5 separate regions of the Homo sapiens genome follow, and all the other regions are linked to region 5. Evidence: promoter capture Hi-C in human tissues and cell types (Jung and others, 2019). All regions are on one chromosome and are shown on one strand. The core of a region is centred on a gene start or on the middle of the fragment in contact, and the rest is flanking DNA. Distances in the headings are between cores, read along the strand shown.

The links. The method cuts DNA at HindIII sites, captures the fragments that hold promoters and counts their contacts. A contact is called where the count stands out against the background at its distance.
Region 1: the fragment with the promoter of PRSS33 here is called in contact with the fragment with the promoter of CEMP1 in region 5 in 4 of the 25 tissues and cell types used here (adrenal gland, heart right ventricle, spleen and 1 more).
Region 2: a contact is called between the fragment with the promoter of RNPS1 here and the fragment with the promoter of CEMP1 in region 5, in 3 of the 25 tissues and cell types used here (IMR-90 fibroblasts, dorsolateral prefrontal cortex and lymphoblastoid cells).
Region 3: a contact is called between the fragment with the promoter of ECI1 here and the fragment with the promoter of CEMP1 in region 5, in 3 of the 25 tissues and cell types used here (dorsolateral prefrontal cortex, liver and lymphoblastoid cells).
Region 4: a contact is called between the fragment with the promoter of PRSS22 here and the fragment with the promoter of CEMP1 in region 5, in 2 of the 25 tissues and cell types used here (adrenal gland and dorsolateral prefrontal cortex).

The regions. Positions count from the first base shown.
Region 1 is chr16:2,786,290-2,788,989 of GRCh38, forward strand. PRSS33 (serine protease 33) reads right to left here and starts at 1,271. Exons shown (of 7, transcript NM_152891.3): 1 at 1,244-1,271; 2 at 213-315. The coding sequence starts at 258. The HindIII fragment of the contact is 27,852 bases long and covers 1-2,700 here.
Region 2 is chr16:2,266,861-2,269,560 of GRCh38, forward strand. RNPS1 (RNA binding protein with serine rich domain 1) reads right to left here and starts at 1,266. Exons shown (of 8, transcript NM_080594.4): 1 at 1,195-1,266. It overlaps MIR3677HG (MIR3677 and MIR940 host gene), which reads left to right and starts at 1,803. Exons shown (of 3, transcript NR_132988.1): 1 at 1,803-1,983. RefSeq lists an enhancer at 1,074-1,333 and a silencer at 1,464-1,913. The HindIII fragment of the contact is 10,724 bases long and covers 1-2,700 here.
Region 3 is chr16:2,250,150-2,252,849 of GRCh38, forward strand. It overlaps ECI1 (enoyl-CoA delta isomerase 1), which reads right to left and starts at 1,438. Exons shown (of 7, transcript NM_001919.4): 1 at 1,366-1,438; 2 at 1,167-1,280. The coding sequence starts at 1,417. It overlaps LOC107984839 (a long non-coding RNA gene), which reads left to right and starts at 1,521. Exons shown (of 2, transcript XR_001752052.2): 1 at 1,521-1,844. RefSeq lists enhancers at 770-899, 1,830-1,889 and a silencer at 1,110-1,579. The HindIII fragment of the contact is 14,026 bases long and covers 147-2,700 here.
Region 4 is chr16:2,856,856-2,859,555 of GRCh38, forward strand. PRSS22 (serine protease 22) reads right to left here and starts at 1,315. Exons shown (of 6, transcript NM_022119.4): 1 at 1,168-1,315. The coding sequence starts at 1,249. RefSeq lists enhancers at 700-1,300, 1,301-1,901, 1,902-2,501. The HindIII fragment of the contact is 21,792 bases long and covers 1-2,700 here.
Region 5 is chr16:2,529,981-2,532,680 of GRCh38, forward strand. CEMP1 (cementum protein 1) reads right to left here and starts at 1,428. Exons shown (of 1, transcript NM_001048212.3): 1 at 55-1,428. The coding sequence starts at 1,093. The coding sequence ends at 350. It overlaps AMDHD2 (amidohydrolase domain containing 2), which reads left to right. Exons shown (of 11, transcript NM_001330449.2): 11 at 1-1,437. It overlaps MIR3178 (microRNA 3178), which reads right to left and starts at 2,025; the gene lies at 1,942-2,025. RefSeq lists enhancers at 1,831-1,880, 2,659-2,700, 2,661-2,700. The HindIII fragment of the contact is 25,225 bases long and covers 1-2,700 here.

The sequences.
Region 1 (2,700 bases), core at 21-2,520, 260 kb after region 5:
GGTGCAGGGGGCAAGGGCGTATGAGCATGACACCGACAAGCACATCGAGGTGTGGTGAGGTCAAGGTCAGTGGCAGAGAGGATTGAGCCCTTGGAATCAAGATTAGAAAGCCCAAGAGTGCTCCAGGGAGCCCGGCCCAGGGAGCAGTGAGATGGGAGAACTGGGAGCCAAGGTGTCTGCGGCCCTCACCCCCAGTCCCTGTCCCCACTCACCCAGCACCAGAAGGAGCAGGACCTGGAGACAGGAAACCCCTCTCATTCTGTCTTCAAGGCTGGGCTGGGTAAGGGTGGCACTGCCTAGGGCTTGGACTCTGGTCTGGAGCCAGCAGGGAGAAGAGAGGAGAGTCCTGGCCCAGGGGCACCAATCCTCACACCAGCCCGTCACCCCCTCCGTGGTCCTTCTGTCTGTCCTCAGCTCCTGGTGGGTTCTGGACTTATCCTGGTGGCCCAGGCTGTATACCCTTCGTTCTGCCCAGGGCCCAGGTATGCAGCACCCACCACCCAGATATTTGGGCATCCTTGGTCTCGACAGAAGCCCTGGAGCCTAACCCCCCTCGGTCATCCTCACTCCCTCCCTCATCCCCCTCCCCCATCCTCACCCCCTCCCTCATCCTCACCCCCTCCCTCATCCTCACTCCCTCCTCCATCCTCACCCCCCTCCTCCTCACTCCCCTCCCTTATCCTCACCCCTTCCCTCATCCTCATCCCTCTCTCATCCTCACCCCCTCCCTCATCCTCACCTCCTCCTCTATCCTCACCCCGTCCTCCATCGTCACCCCTGCTCCTCCTCACTCCCCTCCCTCATCCTCACCCCCTCCCTCATCCTCACCTCTCATCCTCACCCCTCTCTCATCCTCACCCCTCCCTCATCCTCACCCCTCCTCTATCCTCACCCCCTCCTCCATCCTCAGCCCCCTCCTCCTCACTCCCCTCCCTCATCCTCACCCCCTCCCTCATCCTCACCCCTGTCTCATCCTCACCCCCTCCCTCATCCTTCACCCCCTCCCTCATCCTCACTCCTCTCTCATCACCCCTCCTCCATCCTTCACCCCCCCATCGTCACCCCCTCCCTCATCCTCACCCCCTCCTCTATCCTCACCCCCTTCCTCCTCACTCCCCTCCCTCATCTTCACCACTTCCCTCATCCTCACCCCCTCCCCCATCCTTCACCCCTCCTCGTCCTCACCCTCATCCTCACCCACTGGCTGCCCCTGCAGCCCCCACAGCCCCTGGCTTGCTCTCACCCTCACAGCCTGGCGCCTTCTGCTGACTGGGGTTGAGGGAGGGCCTGGGGGCTTAAAGTGCCAGGAGAGCGCGAGGCTCAGCCAAGGAGTAATGAACAGGGCCGGGGCGGGGCTGTGGCTTTACCGGACCAGCCTCAAACAAAGATGCTTTGAGCAGAGCTTCAGAGGTGGCAGGAAAGGGTCAATGGGTTTCTCAAAGGAAGCCTGCCTTGCGCCAAGGTACTAGAAGTGGGGGCTGGCGGAGAGCAGTGGTGCGGGTAGGTGCTGGGAGGGGTGGCAGTCAGGTGGGGAAGCTCTGCAGGATCCGGGGCAACTCCTCTCCAAACCTGACCTGGGCTCCCTGCAGAGCACACGTTGCTGGAGCTTCTGCGCTCCATTGTTCTGTCCAGAAATCCCATCTCAGACGGAAGTCCTGGCCAGACAGCTCCACCCAGAGACCCCAGCATGGCCAGCCCCCTTCCAGATCCGGGGTCTGGAGCAGCTGGAGGTGGAAAGGGACTGGTTCAAAGTTGGTGGCACTCCTTACTTGACCAGAGGCAGGGGGAGACTTGACCTTGGGGACCAGTGCAGTCTTTGGTTTGGGGTGGCCGAGACAGAGCAAGATGCTGGGGTCAGGGGACAGGAACTCCCCTTCTCTCGAGGCCCGTGGAGGACCGGGGCCCGGATGGTCCAGGGCCCTGTAGTTCCCTCTTGGGCTCATACACAGTGTTCGCTGCCTAGAAGTCTCTCAAGTCCCTCTCTGCATAGTGAACTCCTCTTATCCCTCAGCCTTCTGCTCTGCCACCTCCTCCTGCCTCCTTTGCAGCCCTGCCATAGTTGTACTTTTTTCCTTTTTTTTTTTTTTGTTTTTCTTTCTTTTTTTTTTTAAAGAGACAGGGTCTTGGCCAAGCATGGTGGCTCATGCCTGTAATCCCTGCATTTTGGGAAGCCGAGATGGGTGGCTCATTTGAGGTCAGGGGTTTGAGACGAGCCTGGCCAACATGGTGAAACCTCGTCTCTACTAAAAATACAAAAATTAGCCAGGCCTGATGGTGGGCGCCTGCAATCTCAGCTACTCGGGAGGCTGAGGCACAGGAATTGCTTGAACCCGGGAGGTGGAAGTTGCAGTGAGCCGAGATTATGCCACTGCACTCCAGCCTGGGCGACGCAGTGAGATTCTGTCTCAAAAAAAAATAAAAAGGGAGAGAGAGACAGGGTCTTGCTCTGTCACCCAGGCTGGAGTGCAGTGGTACAATCACAACTCCCTGCGTCCTTGACCTCTGGGCTCAAGTGATCCTGCCACCTCAGCTTCCCAAGTAGTTGGGACCACAGGTGCATGCCACAGCACCTAGCAATTTTTTTTTCCAGAGATGGGGTCTTGCAATGATGCCCAACTTGTTCTCGAACTCCTGGGCTCAAGAGATCCTCTTGCTGTAGTCTCCCAAAGTGCTGGGGTTATAGGCATGTGCCACCGAGGC
Region 2 (2,700 bases), core at 16-2,515, 260 kb before region 5:
TTGCTTTTTTCCTAGTCTTCTAAAACTGGTGTGTGTTTTAATATTTCAGTCTTGATTAGCTGTATTTCACATGCTTAGCAGCCACATGTGGCCAATGGCTACTTGGCTGGACAGCACAGACCTAGAGTGGAGGTCACACCCGCAGATTCCAGCCCCACCCCCCCAAGAACTAAGATCTGCCCGAATGTACTTGGTGAAATCAAACACCACCAGTTATTCTTAAGCACTCCAAACACTAAGAACCACTGAGTAAGCGGACGCCTTGCTGGGTGCGGTCGAGTGCTAGAAAGCAAAAGTTGAGGTTCTCTGTTCACCCAAGTTCAGGTACCGGCTCAGGACCTCGGTTACCTCCCCCATCCTCCGGAAAGGTGCGCGTCCAACAGCCAGAGAGAGGAGAGAACAATTAGTTAAATCTCGAGGAGAGGGCGTTTCGGCACAAATCTTCAGAGCACCTTCCCCATTTAAAAGTACATTTCAGGCACAGTTCATGCGGAATCAAGACAAAAAGCCTACTCCACGTTTCTCCTCCAACAAACTTAACCTTCCCGTATCCGCCCCTCTGGGGTAACCCATCAAACTGAGCTCGGCCACCGTGCTCGGTCCATAGTGGGCCGTATCCCCACGGCCTAGCGCCGATAATTGCACACGGGAGTCCGGGAAACGTTCGCGGAGTACACGTTTGAATTAATGACTCCGAAGGGGGGATCGGCCGACCTTCCACCGCATCCCACAAAGAAACTCCGCGCCCGCCGACACCGGCCCGACACGCCGACCTCGCCGCTACCCGTCCGCGTTCACTCACAACTCCCCCGTCCAGGCGCCGGGCCGCGAGCGCTTCCAGGGCAGGGCCTGGCGTTGGGGGCTTGGGTCTCCGGCCCGGCGGGAGGGCCCCAAGGGCGGAGGCCGCGCTCCCCGCTGGTCTGAGTCCCGCGGGCCTGGCTGGGCCACCGCCGAGCGGACGAAGCACAGGCGCCCTTCCGTCCGCAGCGGCCCCGACCACTTCCGGGCCACGGCCTCGACACCTCCCACTCCGCCCGCCCCGGGCCACACTCTTTCTTCTCGGAGCCCGCACCGCGCTGCCAGGCCACCGCCGCACTGCGGGGCTGAGGAGTGGACCGGCTTCACGAGGCGTCCTGCCGGGCCTGCCGGGCAGCCCCCGAAACACGGATGCAGTCGGATTCCGCCCCAACTTACATCTTCCCGCCGCCGCCACCTCCTCCTGCTTTCCTCAGCCGCCGAGGCCGGCGCCGCTCTGACGTCAGAGTCAAGGAGCGGGAAGTCGCCGCCGCCCGGCGCGCAGCGATGACGTAAACGCCTGGCCCAATGGGCGCCAGCGAGGAAGCGTTAAAGAGTCAAGGCAGTTTGTGGGAGTCGCGCTGGGGACGTTCAAGGTGTCTCCTAGCCGGTAAAGTCCCTGGGACTGACCGGGCTGGTTGCACGCTTACTGGAGCGGGCACATGGGTAGCCTGTTGAACCTGGGAGGGCAGCGCGATGACCGAGGCTCGTCCTCCGGCGCGGAGGGTGTTAACGCGCCCGTGCCCCGCCCCTTTCCTTGCGCGGGCGCACTGGGCCCGCCCGGGCAGACTCCGGCCCCTGTCGCCGGCGGTGGAGGCGGGGCTCCGGGCCGGGCTGTGCTGAGGCCGGCGGGGTGGTAGCACAGGAGGGGTTCGCAGGCTCTGCGGCCGTGCGTGGCGGGGCGTGGGGGCCCGCAGGGCGGAAGTAGCTCGGAGAGACGGGCTGGGGCAGGGCGTGCGTTCGTGCGGTCAAAATCCACTGGTGGCGTTTGGGGTGTTCCCGTGGACGCGGCCTCCCGGCAGGCGGACCTCCACCGGGTGGGCGCGGCAGGCGGGCTGTGCGGGCAGGAAGAGCGACGAGCTTGAGAGTGGGAGATGGGGTGCAACGGCGGGCCTCTCCGGGGAGGTGACACTGCCGCTGAGACCCGAATGGAAGGGCGCGCCCGGCGGGGGAACAGCAGGCGCCGAGGTTCGCTGGAAGCAGGGAAGGGAGGCCCGGGTACCGGCTCGCAGGCCCGCGCGAGCTTCGCGGCAGCGGCACGGAGCGTGTGAACGGCGCAGCGCCGAGGCTTCATCCATCGGCCGGTGCAGGGTCCGGGCAGGGAGCACTGTCGACCAGGGTCCGACCCTGGGAGAGTCCAGAGGTGGCGCCTCTGGCAGGGACAGAGGAGGGGGTGACGCTGTAGGGGTGCAGGCAGGAGGCTCCGCGTCAACTCCCCACACTGACGGGGCGGATTTTTTTTTTTTTTTGACAGAGTCTCGCACTGTTGCCCAGGCTGGAGTGCAGCGGCGCGATCTCGGCTCACTGCAACCTCCGCCTCCCGGGTTCAAGCGATTCTCCTGCCTCAGCCTCCCGAGTAGCTGGGATTACAGGCGCACACTACCACACCCGGCTAATTTTTTTTGTATTTTTCTGGTAGAGACAGGGTTTCACTATGTTGGCCAGACTGGTCGAGAACTCCTGACCTCGTGATCCGCTCCTAGGTTCGCCTTGGCCTCCCAAAGTGCTCGCTCCTGGGCGTCCCAAAGTGCTGGGATTACAGGCGTGAGCCACCGCCCCCGGCCGAGGGCGGGTTTTGTTCTCTGCTGTGCCTGTCAGGCAGTCGTTGCCCTGTGGTTATTTGTGGAGGGATTGACGGTGCGCTGAGCTTCAGACTTTGTCTGAACAGCTTCGTGGCAGCAAGGA
Region 3 (2,700 bases), core at 188-2,687, 280 kb before region 5:
TTGGGAGGCTGAGGAGGGAGAATCGCTTGAACCCAGGAGGCACAGGTTGCAGTGATCGGAGATTGCGCCACTGCACTCCAGTCTGGCGACTGGAGAGCAAGACTACATCTCCAAAAAAAAAAAAAAAAAAAAAAAAAGTCAGTTTGAAGTTGGTCTTAGTTTGTCCCTCTCAAGTTTGTAGAGAGAGCCCAGGCAGCTCCCTCAGCCCAGACAGAGAGGACGGAACCAAGTTCAGAGGCACCAGGAGCCTGGAGTCCTGAAGCTGTGCAAAGTTGGGCACAGCCCTGAGTCTGGGGGGTTGGGGAGGGCAGGGGCTGTGACTTACTTGCGGAGGGGGAGGGCCTCCTCTCAGGAGCCACAGCAGGGACTGCTGCACCGGGAGGTCCAGGTCAGCATGTCCTGGAAGCAGAACTGCTGGCGCCTAGGCGTGCCCTCTCGGTGCCCTCAGCTCGGCCTCCTGTCTGGAGGGAGCGCACAGGCTTCTCTTCCAAAAGTACTTTTTCTATCCTTTCCAGTGGGTTTTACCAAGGGTTCTGACGGGCGGGTAGGTACGAGGTTCTGTGCCACATGGGAGTGTTAACAAACGTAATTTTATTCCAAAAGATTCCAATTCTTTTCCACTTCCAATTGAATAACTTAGATAACAGCTCATATCCCCGCCAACTTTATTTTTATTTATTTATTTATTTTGAGACGGAATCTTGCTCTGTGGCCCAAGCTGGAGTGCAGTGGCACAATCTCGGCTCACTGCAGCCTCCACCTCCCAGATTCCAGCGATTCTTCTGCCTCAGCCTCCCAGGCATAGGCACGCACCACCACGCCCAGCTAATTTTTTTCTTTTGTATTTTTCAGTACAGATAGGGTTTCATCATGTTGGCCAGGCTGATCTCGAACTCCTGACCTCAGGTGATCCGCCCGCCTCTGCCTCTTAAAGTGCTAGGATTACAGGCGTGAGCCACCGCGCCCGGCCTCCGCCAACTTTAAAAACAGAAACTTTTATCTCATGACGAACGAACCCAGGTAGAGCGGCAAGGTTCTGTTTCGAAACTTGGGTTCTAAACACAAACCGAGCGTCGACAGACGTGGTTCTCCGACAGCACCCCGCGAGCGCGGACCCCCGCGGGTCCTGACCCCACGCCCGCCCTCCCTCGGCGCCGCCCGCTCACCTGCGCCCGCGTCCGGCTCCACCAGCACCCGCTGGCTCCCGAAGCGCCGCGCGCCGTCTCCGCCGCCGGCCGCCCGCTCCGTCCGCCCGAGGGCCGCGCCCGGGAGCCGGGCCCCTGCGAAGGCAGCGTGGGGGAGCCCGTTAGTTCCCGGTCCTGGCCCCGGCCCCGGCCCGATCCCTGCCCACCCCGGGTTTCGCACCCGCGCGGAGCAGAACGCGCGCCGGGACTCGCACAGAAGCCACCAGCGCCATCTTGACCGCAACGCGCGGGATAAAGGTCGCGGGCTGAGCTCGCCTCCTGGGGAGGGGGCGGAGCCCCCCCAACTAGGTCCCGCCCCGTTCCCAGAGGCTGGTCAACGCCTCCACCTACCGGCCGAAACAGCCGCTCGCCGCCCTCCGGCTTCACCCCGGGCAGCCGCGCGCTTCCGGGGCAGGCACCTGGATCTGGGCCAGGGCTGGCCTACAAGGAGGCGCAGGCCCACTGCTGAAGCAGCCACGACCAGCTCAGCGCCAGGGCAGGCTCTTCTACAGCGCGGGACACTGTAGGCAAGAGGCTGCCGGTGTTCGTGACCGCGAGCTCTCGGCCGGGCCCAGCTACTGCAGTATCGGCGCTGGAAAGGCGATCAAAGCACGGAACCCCTCCCGAGGGGGCCGTCAGGGAGGCCAGGGGCTGCCTGGGGTGAGCCCGGCCTCCTGCCCCTTTGGGAACAGGATCAGAGCTGCAGGTTTAGTCACCGAAATGGGGGTGGGGGCAGCAGAACCCAGCGGTAAGAACAGGCCACCCGCCTTGCTCAGCACAAGGGCAAGTGCACAAAGGCCGGACCGCAGTGGCACCTTTTTATTTGCAGAGAAATGCCGAAAGATAAGAATACAGTCTGTTCCCGCTGGGCCGTAAGCGGCAGCTCGGGAGTGGGCCTTTGTACTGTCTGGTGTGGGGTTTTGGTCAGACCACTGGGAGCACTGGGCAGTAAGGTCCCAGCTGTGTTGGGTGGTCTCAACTTTTGTTCTCATCTTAAGCATTTCCAATTCTTCCTTGTGTCCCAAACCAATTTTTGAGGTGGAAAAATGGCCACTTAACGGAGGAGGAAGCAAGCCTGGCATGGTGACACACACCTGTAACCCCAGTGACTCAGGACCAGCTGGGTAACATAGCAACAACTTGTTGCTACAAAAAATTCTTAAAAATTAGCTCCTGCTGCTGGGCGCGGTGGCTCATGCCTGTAATCCCAGCACTTTGGGGGCCAAGGTGGGCAAATCATGAGGTCAGGAGTTTGAGACCAGCCGGGCCAATATGATGAAACGCCGTCTCTACTAGAAATACAAAAAATTAGCTGGGCATGGTGGCAGGTGCCTGTAATTCCAGCTACTCAGGAGGCTGAGGCAGGAAAATCACTTGAACCCAGGAGGCAGAGGTTGTAGTGAGCCAATATTGCGCCACTGCACTCCAACCCAGGCAACAGAGACTGTCTCAAAAAAAAAATTAAAAAATTAAAAAAAAATTAGCCCCTGCTACTCTGGACACTGAAGAAGGAGTT
Region 4 (2,700 bases), core at 65-2,564, 330 kb after region 5:
CAAGAGAAGGAAACGGTTAGGCCGGTGAGGGGCCCCAGGACACAGTGGTGAGGGGCCCTCAACGCCCAGTGAGGAAGGCCCCCAACACCCAGTAAGAAGGGATCCCAGTGCCCAGTGAGGTGGAGGTCCCAGCACCCAGTGAGGAGGGTCCCTCAGCGCCCAGTGAGGAGGGGTCCCAGCACCCCCTGAGGAGGGTCCCTCAGCGCCCAGTGAGGAGGGGTCCCAGTACCCAGTGAGGAGGGTCCCTCAGCGCCCAGCGAGAAGCCCCCAGCACCCAGTGAGAAGGGGTCCAGTGCCCAGTGGGAAGGGGTCCCAGCACCCAGTGAGGAGGGGTCCCCAGCGCCCAGTGAGGAGGGCTCCCCAGCGCCTAGTGAGGAGGGTTCCCCAGCGCCCAGTGAGGAGGGGTCCCCAGCGCCCAGTGAGGAGGGCTCCCCAGCGCCCAGTGAGGAGGGGTCCCCAGCGCCCAGTGACGAGGGGGTCCCAGCGCTCAGTGAGGAGGGGGTCCCAGCGCCCAGTGAGGAGGGGTCCCAGCGCCCAGTGAGCAGGCGTCCCAGCGCCCAGTGAGGAGGGGGTCCCCTTGAGTACCTGGTGGTGAGGAACCTCTAGCCCTCCAGTGCCCAGGGAGACTCTCAAGTCTCTCAACCCCAGGGCCCCTACCGGCGGGGCATTTCCTGGGGCCTGGCCAGGCCCTGGCTGCACAGCTGTGACCCTGCCCTCCCGCAGCTTCCCGTCCAGCCTGCCTTCCGGGGACCAGGACCGGCTCCTCGAGGGAGGCACAGACCTGAGCCCCTCGGCTCTGGACGCTGCTGCCGCTGGTGTGCCCTCCCCTGACCTCCTGCGGCAGGAACAACACAAAACGGTGCTTCCCCAGAGGCAAGCAGCGGAGGACGAGGAGATGGGAGAACACGGAGGCGAGAGGGAGCAGGCGATGGCGACGCCGACGGTAACTGGAGACCGAGGCGCGCTGCGTACTTGCTGCGTTTTCTGTTTCATCCTCACAGCCGTAGAAGAAACCGAGGCACAGAGCAGTTAAGGAGCAAGAGATAAACAGAGCAGAAGCGGAAAGGAGATGAGAGAGGCAAGGCCAGGAGGGAGAGAGGGAGGGAGGGAAGGAGGGAAGGAGGGTGGAGGTGAGAGGGAGGAGGGAGGAGCAGCCTCCGGACGTACCTGTCGACGCCAGCAGCAGCAGGGAGGTGAAGGTGCCGAGACAGCCCCCACCCAGGGCTGGGGGCGCTCCAGAAACCACCATGGCTGGTGGGGCGGGGGAGCAGGCAGCAGGCTCGAGAGACCCAGGGCGATGCGGGTCAGGGTGTGTAGGTTCCCTGCAGGTCGCCCCAGGTTTTATCCTGGGAGGCGGAATGCCGTCAGACCAGTCCCCAGGTGGCTCCCGCGGCCACCCCGGCTGTGGGTCCTGGGCAGAGGGCGGGGCTGCGGGGAGGAAGCCAGCCGCTACAGGGCTCTGGGGGGGCTCTAGCTGAGACCCCAGGATGTGGCCTCTGGAAGGGCAGGGGAGGGGGCTTGGGCCCAGAGGTCCCTGACATTAATTGTCCAGGGGCAGAGAAAGGTGCCAGGGCACTGAAAGGAAGGGGTTCCGGGCTGGGGAGGGCCTGGGTTTGGAGAGGCTGAAGTCTGGGGTACTGGGTGTTGGGGGTGGTCCTAGGGCCTTAGGGATCAAGGGGGTGCCCAAAGCTCAGTAACGGCTCCCACCTGCAGGGCCCCAGGCCCCTGTGACTCAGCCCAGAGACCTGGCGCAACCCGGGCTTGGGAATCCCGTTAACCCACTTCCCGAAAGCTGTGAATCAGGTGAGTGGCGACCTTGGTGGCCTCCTGGTGGCCGCCCTCCTGTCGTTCCTGGAGGCGGGGCTCTGCCCTGCGGTTCAGACACCTGACAACTCACCTCACCTGGACTCCTGGGAAGGGGAGGAGCCCATGGGCACCAGGGCTCGGCCAAGCAGGGGGGTTGAGAGAAGAGGGGCCCCGGGAAGGGCTGGGACTCCCAGGATTCAAAGAGCTGCTGGGCTGGGCTGTGGGGGGCCGGGTCCTGGGCTGGGAGTGGATTCTCGGTGCTTCCCCCCAGCGGCTGCCACAGTGGCAACCCGGGGCTGAATCCTGTGAGACCTTCCCTGACTCAGTGCCCTGCAGCGCCCCACACTTGGGACACTCCCACCCAAGCAGGGCAGGCTTCCTCCTCTACAAAGAGGCAGGAGCCTGCGCCCCTTCACTCATTCGATCAACAAGCCTCCAGCAGGGCCCTTGCTACCGCCGGGGGTGAATTAAAAACAACCATAGTGTCTGGGTGGGGTGGCTTATTCCTGTAATCCCAGCACTTTGGGAGGCCAAGACGGACAGATCATGAGGTCAGGAGTTCAATACCAGTCTGGCCAACATAGTAAAACCCCGTCTCTACTAAAAATACAAAAAAAAAAAAATTAGCCAGGCATGGTGGCAGGCGCCCTTAGTCCCATCTACTTGGGAGGCTGAGGCAGGAGAATCGCTTGAACCTGGGAGGCGGAGGTTGCAGTGAGCTGAGATCACGCCACTGCACTCCAGCCTGGGCGACAGAGCGAGACTCTGTTTCAAAAAAAAAAAAAAAAAACCATAGTAGTGAATATGTATGTAATAAATATATTTATACAAATATAAATATAGTATTTATATAATAGAGCAAACATTTAGGAGTGCCATGCATTGCCTCCTAAT
Region 5 (2,700 bases), core at 178-2,677:
CTGGGGGTGAAGAGCCGGCAGGAAGGGGACCAGTCACAGGGAGTGTGGACAGTCAGGGGTTTGCTTTCTGCTCCTGAGTTGGGGTGTGCAGCGTGGAGCCCACAGCCTGGTTCTGGGCCAGGGCACAGTGCCAGGGGCTCCGCTCTGACCTCCAGGAGGGAGACTGGGCCCGGGACCCCTGTTTTCTGCTCCCTGGACTGCCTAGCCCTGAGTGCCACGGATGACCAGCGTTCTGTTTTCTCTTCTCAATAACCCTATCTCTTCACACATCCCCAGGCCCAGTGCTTGCCGGCTGTGGTGACCCTGCCTGGTGCTGGAGGGCAGTATGGGAGGCACCAGTGTGCCCTGCTCACCCCATTAGTGTCATCCTGCCATCTTCTGTGTCCCCTTGGCCCTGGCACACACCCATGTGGCAAACACGGGCCGTGAGGCTCCCTGAACAGCTTCGAGGCGGGTGGGCTTCTGGAGCCCTCTTGGCTCTGAGGACAGCCACAGTGGGGTCAGACGTCAGGGATTGGTGCAGCCCCACGTCAGGGGTGATTGTCTTGACTTTCTCTCCATTTGAGTTCTGGGGTGGGTGGCTCCCTTCCCCCTTGCTTACAGGTGCTGTCCTGGGCACAGGAGGTACGCGCCTGGCTCTGCCACTGTTCTCTTCCCTCTGCTGCAAAGCCCAGTTAAGGAAATGTCTCCAGGTCCAAAGAGATAGGATGGTCTGGGCCCCACCTGTTGGAAGGGAACAGCCAGGGAAGAACCACCTGCCTGGGCAGGGCCTCGCCTGAGGGAGGGCCTGGGGCAGGGCACAAGGGGTTGATCTCAGCCCACAAGCCCCAGGGGCAGCCCAGGAAAGCAGGCGACGGATGTGGATCCTGACCTCCTGAGAGGTGTGAGGTGCAGGGATACCCACCTCTGCCTTGACGGCCGCGCACCCCTTAGGAAGTGGCTGTCCAGCGCCTGCCTGTGCTGGGCCTGGGAGAGGAGCTGTCTTGCCAGGGCTCCCAGGCAGGGAGAGGCAGGTGAGGTTCTCAGCCGATGTGTTAGAGGTTGAGCATCGCCTGTGCCCAGCTTGCTGGCTGTCAGTGCTTGATGTGCCCATCCTCAGCTAAAACCCAGAGCTGGCATGTTGGTCATCCCCACCTCAGACGGGACGCCCAGTCCAGAGCTGGTGAGCCCTGGGCCAGCCTTTGGGCCTGGCCTGCCCCATTCACCGGCCAGCGCCCCACCTCCCTGGCTGGAGGGTCGGGGAGGGGCTGGCAGAGATGGTTGGTCCACAGGGCTAGCCCTGGGTGGTGGGAGAGGGGCCCAGGGTCAGGGTGAGAGAGAGCTGGGCCAGGGAGCTGCTGCAGGATGATTTTGAGGTGTGGGGGAAGCACTCTTGGTTGGTTTTGGTTTGCTTTTTAAAAATTGTGGTAAAATACATAACAAAAGTAACTATCGTAACCTGAGCAGTTCTGTGACATGAAGTGAATTCACTGCTTTGTGTGACCTTGGCCACCATCATTCCCCACCACTCACTCCCGCTGGGCTCCCAGCCCTGCCCCACCATTCCGCTCCCTCTACAGCTATGGGTTTTACAAAGAAGGATGCAGGGCGCCCTGACTGCGGGGTGAGGGGCAGGCCTGCCCGCGGTGTGGGCATTCGCTGAAGGGGGACGCCCAGGTGTCTGCCTGAGTTACGGGTTGGGGGGTCGGGCATGTGGGGAGGGATGGAGTTGGAGGTGCATGCTCTCAGAGCTGGTAGGGGTGGCCCGTTTCGTCCCGTGTGTGAACTGGAGATGAGACCCGGCGCCTGCGATCCCGCAGACCGCGCCCGGCCGGGTGTCACTTGTGGGCGCACGCTGCCGGGATGCTGGGCCGAGCCCGCGGTTTAAGACCCAGATCTCAGCCAGGTCCCTTTCGCCGTCCGAGCCTCTGCACCTCGTGGGCTCCGAGCACATCCAGGCCAGAGACTGCGTTTGGGGCGTGGGCACGGGAGACCGTCATCAGCCAGGACGCTCTCGACCGATCCGGCCGCGCCCCGCCCAGCCTCGTAGCGCAGGCGCTGAGTCCAGGCTGACGCGCAACTCTGGGAGCGTTGCGGCACGCGGGGCCTTGCCTACTGTGGGAGGGGCTTCTGGGGGCGGGCTTCTGTCGGGCCAATTAGGATCGCCGCAGGGAAGGCACGCGCCGCGGCTGAGCAACAGGGGCGCGCGTCACCTTCTCTAGTTAACCCGCGCGGCCCCGGGCACAGAGCCCGAGGCTGCGCGGTCCCCGGCGGGCCCGCGGACCCCCCCCATCTCTGCGCCCCCCACATCTCTGCGGACCCCGCCTCGCCCCAGCCCTCCCATCCACAACCCTCACAACCTTGCATACCCCGCTACGCTCCCCACCGCGCCCTCACATTCCTGCAGACCCCGTCTCCCCACAACGCTCCCCGCCAACGCTGCGGAGCTCCGCGTCGCCCCAGCGCTCCCTGCCAAGCCCCCCACACCCCTGTAGACCCCGCCTCGCCCCAACCCTCCGAGCTGCTCCCCTTATACCCTTGCGGACCTAGTTTGTTTCGTCCCAGTCCTCCCCGTCGCGTCTCCCACATCCCTGCGGACCTCCCCGCGCCTCGCCTCTCCCTTCTGTTACGTATCACGCACAGGTGGATCCCACTACGACCCAGCTTGGCTCCTGTCCCGCACCTCCGCACCTGGCCTCTAGCCCCGCCCTCACTGTCTTG